Linked DNA regions of Homo sapiens: region 1 is linked to region 2. The links are contacts of gene promoters, found by promoter capture Hi-C in blood cells and fetal thymus (Javierre and others, 2016). All regions are on one chromosome and are shown on one strand. Each heading gives the region's core, a stretch centred on a gene start or on the middle of the fragment in contact. The rest is flanking DNA. Distances are from core to core; before and after follow the strand shown. Region 1 has its middle 4.8 kb from the start of SLAIN2. Region 2 holds the start of FRYL (FRY like transcription coactivator).

Region 1 (3,619 bases), core at 551-3,050, 440 kb after region 2:
AATCCTGTTTCATTTTTTCTCAGACACATCTCTCTCTCTTTCTTTCCTTCCTTCCTTTTCTTTCTTTTTTTCTTCACTGCCTGTCTCTCACCAGTAGAGTGTGAACTGCAGGAGAACAGAGTTCACTGTTATATCTCCAGTGCTTAAAACAGTGCCTACAACAGTGCCTAGTACATGGTAAGTGCTCAATACATGTTTTTTGAACGAGAGAGTTAATGGATTTACGCTAAGTGAAGTCTCCTAAAAGAGAATTTCAGATAAATATGGTTATATCTCAAATCATTGAAGTGGAAATTTGTAATTATTTTGAATGGTTGACTTTTAAAATTATATTTTCTCCTTCCAAAAGAGCAACATGTCATACCATATATGTCATCCTCAAAACTAGGTCACTCTCTACCTCCTGAGAGCCAACAGCCCTTAAGAATTGCTGAGGAGAGAGTTTTAAGTTCTCACTGAGAAGCATAAGGACAAGAATATTTCCTTTCTATCCTTAACCTTGCCAGGATCTTCCTCTTTCAGGTTAGCTGTGATACCCTGTCTTCTCTGGTGACTCAGAAGTGTTACAGCATGTTTTTAAAAGTCACTCTAAGAGTGACTTTTATATAGCTACAAGGAGCAGAGCTAGTAGGTGTCTGAAGTATGCATCACAGTTAGCCCAACTAGTTTTTCAGGTGTTGTGTTTTATGATAAGCTTGGTTTGTTGCTGGAAGAAGGATTTGTTTCTTTTCTAAGCAGGTGTGGCCCATTTTCATAACTTGCTCCTACATGCATGTTAGCTCTTAGTGAAACTCCTGACAAAGTGGAAAATATTACAAACCACTAAAAGTATTTGGAATGAAAAACTGTTACTCAATGGCTTAAAGATATTTAGCCATCCTAAAATCCTAAATCAAGGTGTGTGTGTGTGTGTCTATATAAGCACATGCTAAAAAGTAGTTTAGAAATTGCTAGACACAGAAATATTTGCATTTCCTTAGAAAATGCTCAGATTCTTTGACAAAACCTTTGCTATCCAATCCATCCATTTTTTAACATAACAGATCATTTCACTAGACAGTCCATCCGTTTAATCTTCATAGGTACACATGGTCAGTTATTTTCTACTTACCCTCTTTCATCTATTCCTCACCAGCATCCCTCCTCCAGATGTGCCTCCCTTTGATCTATCAAACGGCCCCTTCTTCACTGTCTTGGTACAATACAATTTTACAAAGGAGTCCCAGGAACCTTAAAGGTTAAGTATATGAGAAATTTTGAATTGAACGCTTGGTGGCAAAATGAAGGGGGGCTTTTTTAGGGAGATTCTCTGTCTAGAGGGTGGTCCCCTATCACACTGTTGGGGGCATATATTATATAGATGTAGGGGTGGGTAAGTCCGTGATCAGAGCAAAGGGTGAACAGGTTCTTGAACTGTTAGGAAGCTACCCAAAATGAAACAATACCGTGTCTTCCACCCTTTTTCTGGCAGCAGATGGGAAGATAAGCTCTTAAATAACATTTATTATTTCTTTTTTTTTCTTTAAGTAGTATATCAGTAGGACAGTGAAGTTGGAAGAGTGGAATATGAACCACTTCTGAACGTGTTTGATGTTCTACAGAAACTACTATTCAAAGATGGAAGAAAACTTGGAATAATCCAAATATTCAAGTCAATAAGATAAGTCCCAATAATCTGCCCTAGGATTTAAAATACATTATTCTGAGTATTGACTTAGAGATACAGTGGAGAGAGTAGATTATACATAGAGACTTGTATCAAGCAAAAGTAAATTAAGCTGCCATTGAGATACTTAAATAATTAGTCTTCTAGGAAGCTGTAGAGAATTCCATTTCTGAGTCTTTGGAAAACTCCTGGAGTATTACCCCGACTGACATCATCAACTATTCAATTTGCCCAAGTATGTCTACAAAGTTACTTTCTATTCATCATCCTTCTTATGTAAACAGTTATATGTGCCCTGGAAGTTTAATTCTATAAATATCCAGTTCTCCAAATTGGCCCAATAATAATAGTAGCTAATAGTTGTTAACCACTTTTATGACATGTGATAATTCATTTAAAACTCACAATAGTCTTTGGAGGTAGCTGCTATTCTCATCATCATCTCCATTTTACAAATGAAGAAACTGAGATATAGAGAGGTTAAATAATTTCCAATACTATAGCCAGGAAGTAGTGGAGCTAAATTAGACCCAGCTGGTCTGACTTCAGAATTGCACTTAGAATCCCCTTTGGCCCATGAGCATGATGAGTTCTCCATTCTTTTACTTAAAAGAGTATTGATACGTAGTCAGCTACCATCTGGGGTGGGGATTGAGGGATAATGTTGAGAACTTAAGCATCGCATTTGCAATACCAACAACACAATCTTCCTCTAACAGCAAGTTTGCCAGATTTGGTGTCTCAGCAACTCTGGAACCCAGCATTGAAGCAATCAGTTCTTTAGAGAGGGAGGTAGTTCGGCTGGATATCGTGGCTCACGCCTGTAATTCTAGCACTTTGGGAGGCCAAGGAGGGGGTGGATCACCTGAGGTCAGGAGTTCAAGACCAGCCTGGCCAACATGGCAAAACCCCGTCTGTATTAAAAATACAAAAATTAGCCAGGCATGGTGGCGGGTGCCTGTAATCCCAGCTACTTGGGAGGCTGAGGCAGGAGAATTGCTTGAACCCGGGGGGTGGGGGTGGAGATTGCAGTGAGCCAACATTGTGCCACTTCACTCCAGCCTGGGCATAAGAGCGAAACTCCATCTTGGGGGAAAAAAAAAAGAGAGAGAGAGGGAGGTAGTTCCTGGACCTCTTGCTCAAAATTTGGCTGTATACTTGGGCACTAGTCCAGGTACTGGAGAGATAGGTAGGAATGGCTGAAGACCCATCAGTCAGTGGTTTGCTAAAATAAAGCTTCAGCATCTGAGCTTCTCATTGGAAAAGTTAGTGAACTAGCCCAGCCTGTAGGAGTTTTATGGGGGCAGAAGTTAGCAGAAGGAGTCTTTTACCCAAGGCAGTAATAACACCATAATCAACAAAGCAAGAAGATCTGAGAGTCAGAATTTAGCGGCAAGAGTCCTGGGCCTCTTGCCCAGACTCTGTTCGGCAAGAGTCGAACAGAGAAGAAAAGTTCGAACGGGTCCTGATATAGGGAAGACTAGAAGCAGACATGAAAAGCCAAAGTATAGAGCCTGGGAAACAGACGAGAGCCAGGTGTACTGGGTTCAACACTAGGTAACAGGGTGATTCCTTGTGAATGCCAAAACAAAGTGGTTGCAGGCAGCTGCAACCTTTGTTTCCATGCCCTTTGCAAAGGGCATGTGGAAGAAACAGTTGCATTTAAGGGTTAGGGATTCTGTGACTTGGCAGGGTTGTGAGTTTCCAGCATTGAGACAAATTGGTAACCAGATCTGCTGGACTAGAGCCCAATCTGCAAAGCTCCCTAATGCAGAAGAGTCCACCGTTGTGTAAACAGATTCTATCTTCCCATAGTTCCTGGAAACCGGATAGCCTTCATCTCACATCTTCACTGTATTCTAGAGAAATGAGGGTAATGTGTTGGGCAGGGCAGAGTAGAGATGAATAGTTGGGTATGGCACAGGCGGCTACCTGTTGTATCAGTGGGTATGG
Region 2 (3,894 bases), core at 148-2,647:
GAAAAGTCCTATGAACTACCAACTACTGATGTTTACTTACCCTTCTCTGTCATCATCAAGCCCCTTTTCTAGGGTACTGCTGAGCACTGACACTTCCTTGGCACCATTAGATTATACTGGGGTATCACTGCAAATGTACTAAAGCCCCCGGGGTACACAGTCTTCAAGGTTCATCGGCAAAGAGGGAGAGAACACATAACCATTTTCCCCTAACATTCTTAGATGGGTACCGAAGCTGTACCTGTACTCAATTTTAGTGGAAATAAACCTTTTAGTTCTTACAGCTCCAGTGGGAAACTGGGGAAACTCTAAAGCAGACCCCGCACTAGGCTTCCCCATAATTTCTTCTCTTTTCAATGCGTGAGGTTCTGCTCCATGGTCAAGCTTCTGGTATCAGATTCCCTCTTTCCCTTAGACAGACTCGTTTTCTCCTGAGAGGCATCTCAGTTGTTCAAGTGACCTGGGGTGTTTTTCCTACAGTTCTAGCAAGGGGGAACGAAGTCCTACACTTTGAGGATGGCATAAGGGTACCATCTACTTAATTTTTTCAAAAAAGTAACAGGTCTCGTGGAAACGCGGGAACGTCACAGAGGACGTGACTTAAACGGAACTTGTAATGGAAATGATTTTCTAAATGAACAATTGCGAGACAAGCAAGGAAACCTCCAGGTTTGCAGATAACTTGATTAAAGCTCTTCCGGGTGGCAAAATGCCAGTGCAATCAATGGTATGAGTAGGGCGGACAGTGGATGAAACTTGTTGAGTAAATCTCAGGAGGAATTAGCACTGGACTTTCAGGTATTCTAACTCAATTCTAACCATTCCATTCTCTGGATCATTGGATAAGGTTCCGCAGGATCCGGGCGCCAGCTCTGGATACATTACTGATCGGGAGAAAATTTTGAATTTTTCTCTTGTCCCTTTCCAGCTTTCCTCAATATAGGATATGAGTTTGTCCTCGACCCCTAACAACATTTAAAGGTAAAGTCGCTCCTAGAAGGCAAAGCGGAGAGGACTTTGCGGCTGTGTTTCTCAAGCCCGTAAAGAGAGAGTAATAATGGTAGGGAGCGTGCAGACTAGCTCTTTCCTTGCCCAATCAAGTGTACAGGAAGATGTCCTTTCACCAATAAAAATAAAGTTCGCTTTCCGGAGGCGGGAGGGTGAGCCTTGACTGCCAGGGCTCCAAAGCAACGTTAGAGGCGAGGGCAGAGAATGATTAGAGGGAAGACCAACCCGGGAAAAGGGGCGGGGAGAAGGTAGGAGCAACTTTGAGCGGCGGCTGGCCAGGCCAGTGGAGGGCGAGGACTGCTGTTCCTGTTGTAGTGTTTCTCGCCAATCAGGAAGGCCAGGGGGCGGGCGGGGTAGGGAAGGGGTGGGAAGACCTCGCAGCACAGCCGGGCGCCCGTCGGGCTCTGGGAGAGAGCGAGAGAGAAATCCGGTTAAAATCAGAGTCGGAGGGAGGTTTAACCACAGATCGGTTCCGATCGGATTATTCCTTAAAGGGGACGCGCCATTGTCAAGAGAACGGAGCCAGGGGCCCGAGGGCGGGGACCGGCGGCGCTGGAGGAGCGAGGCAGCTGTACTAGGACTGGGAACGGGTAGGTGTTGACTGGGGAAAGGCGCTTCATTTTACTTTCTCTTCCAGCCCCGGGGCAGGCGCCGGGATGCCCGCCGCCGGCAGCCCAGCCTGGGCGGGAGACGAGGTCGTCGGCCCTCGCCAGCTGTCCTTCCTGGTGGGCGCCGAGGGAAGGCGGTCCAGGATGGCTGGCAAGCGGCGCGGCGCGGCCCGGGCCGGCGCTCGTAACGGACACCAAACCGCGGCGCAACCCCAGCCTCAACCGAAAGCCCGCCCGAGCTCCGGCGGTTCCGCCGGCAGCGCCGCGCGCCCGTCTCTCCCGCACGTCCCCTTCCCCTCCAGTGCCTGGCTCTTCTCGCGCGCGCCCGGGTACCCCTCGCGCGCCGCCTTCTCGCGCGTCCTGCTCTGGTCGCGCGCCGCCTCGCCACCGACTCGCGGGAGCCGCCCCGCGGGAAGGAAGGCGGTGGCAGAGGTGGAGGAAGACCGGCGACCACGGCTCCGCCGCCTCGGCTGGGAAGGGAGGGCTGAGGAGCAAACTTAGCGCGGCGGCTGGCGGGCCCCGGCGGGCAGGGCTGGCGGGGACCGGCGGAGCGCGCCAGCCCAGCCGGGCATTGTCCGCCTTTTCCCTTGCTCTGGTCTCTCCGCCCACTGCTCGCGGTCCTGGGGAGGGGTGCGGGCGCTGTGCCCGCGCAGCCCCGGGCCGTTGGCGTACCCCGGGACCCGGAGTCTTCCGGAGCCGGAGCCAGCCCTGCGGACACCGCGGCCACCGCCCGCGAGCTGACTCGGCCTGTAGATTGCCTGCTGCTCTCAGCCTCGGCACCGGGCAGGGTGCCTGGGCGCTGAGCTCTTCTTTGCAACTTTTATTTGCCGTTTGATGGAAGTTGTTGCTTCCGGGCGGCAGGTTCTTTGGGCACAGCCTGGTTTCCTGCGTTCTGGAGAGGCTGGTTTCTAGGGCGAAATGATTTATTGCTGCCGGTCTTTCCTGCCATCCTAGTTTAGTTCCTCGCCACCTAAAATCGCATTTTTGTGGATTTGCAATGATATGGGAGCATTAATCTTTCCTAGGCCAAGATTTGAAAAGAAAAAAAAGGGGGTGGGGGTTAGGGTGTGTGCTGGTGAGGAGCAAGAGTTCTTAGTAGAGCTGAGTTTGCCCTTACCTTTGAACTGCGGAAAATATTACTTCGATTCACTGGCTGGGGTTCTTTTGGAAGGGTAGGGGAAAAAAGACACAGCAAGACAGGTTGCCAGGGTCTGTCGGATTGGGGGGGAAAAAGGGTTTTGATGGAAGTAAAGTTGGTTTTATAAAATGCTGTGCTGCCTAGGAGATATCGTCTGTAAAGTTGATTCTGCTACTGAATTTACAGCCATTATAATTAGTACCAACAGCTTTTACTATTGATAAAAACTAGTATAAGACGTCTTTTCATCTTGAGCATTATCACTCTGCTTAATCTGTCAATACTTGCCGAGGAAATCAGAGATAGCACATTCCTTGTTAGAGGCCTTAGTGAAGAATGTTTTCATAAGCATTCATTTTTGACAGTTTCTTCTTGTGCAATACTTTATGTAGAGTACTTGCATGTGCAAGTTACAACCGTATAAACAAAGTAGCAGTGGGTGTGTTATTCTCTGGTCTTTTTTCTGCTACTCATTATCAAAAATAGCATTCCATCGTGTCTTGTCTTCCACTCTGAATTATTTTGTAAAATTAGTTCTCTAAAAGAGGGAATTCTGTTGGAACATGTGACCCAGTTTTTTTTTTTTTTATTAAAGCAGTCCAACTTTTTAAAGCGTTCATCGATTAATTTATTGTCTAGTAACTTCGGAGTGGTGTGGAACATTGTAAATTCACAGGCTCAGCAGTAACAATAGAGAAACTACTTGGGAAATTGGAAGCCAATATCAGATAATGTTTGAAATAAAAATCTATTCTTCTCACAGAATTTAGGAAATAAAGACACACAAAAACAAATTCTTTGGGTTCAAGTGATCCTCCCACCCCAGGCTCCGTAGTAGCCGGGACTACAGGTGGGCACGACTGCGCCTAGCTAAAATTTTTATTTTTTGTAGAGATGGTGGTCTCACTTTTTAATTTTTCGTATAGACGGCTGGTCTCCAACTCCTGGCCTCAAGCGATCCTTCTGCTTTGGCCTCTCAAAGTGCTGGGATTACAGACTGAGCCACCGTGCTTGGCCGTTTGTAGTAATCTTGATGGTATCTGGCATTGTTTCACCTAATATTTCTTCTTTTTTGTTTTTTTCTTTGATCCATTTCTGTGATAAGGATGTCAGGCAAGCAGCTAGGCATAATCTTCCTTC

The links. The method cuts DNA at HindIII sites, captures the fragments that hold promoters and counts their contacts. A CHiCAGO score of 5 or more calls a contact.
Region 1: a contact is called between a fragment that was not itself captured here and the fragment with the promoter of FRYL in region 2, in 3 of 17 cell types (activated CD4 T cells, fetal thymus and naive CD8 T cells). The highest score is 5.8, in activated CD4 T cells.

What each region holds. Positions count from the first base shown.
Region 1 is chr4:48,334,936-48,338,554 of GRCh38, reverse strand. No RefSeq gene overlaps it. Among named protein-coding and RNA genes, the nearest start is that of SLAIN2, 4.8 kb to the left of the region's middle. The HindIII fragment of the contact is 2,208 bases long and covers 697-2,904 here.
Region 2 is chr4:48,777,782-48,781,675 of GRCh38, reverse strand. FRYL (FRY like transcription coactivator) reads left to right here and starts at 1,397. Exons shown (of 64, transcript NM_015030.2): 1 at 1,397-1,598. RefSeq lists silencers at 1,352-1,461, 1,552-2,431. The HindIII fragment of the contact is 8,638 bases long and covers 387-3,894 here.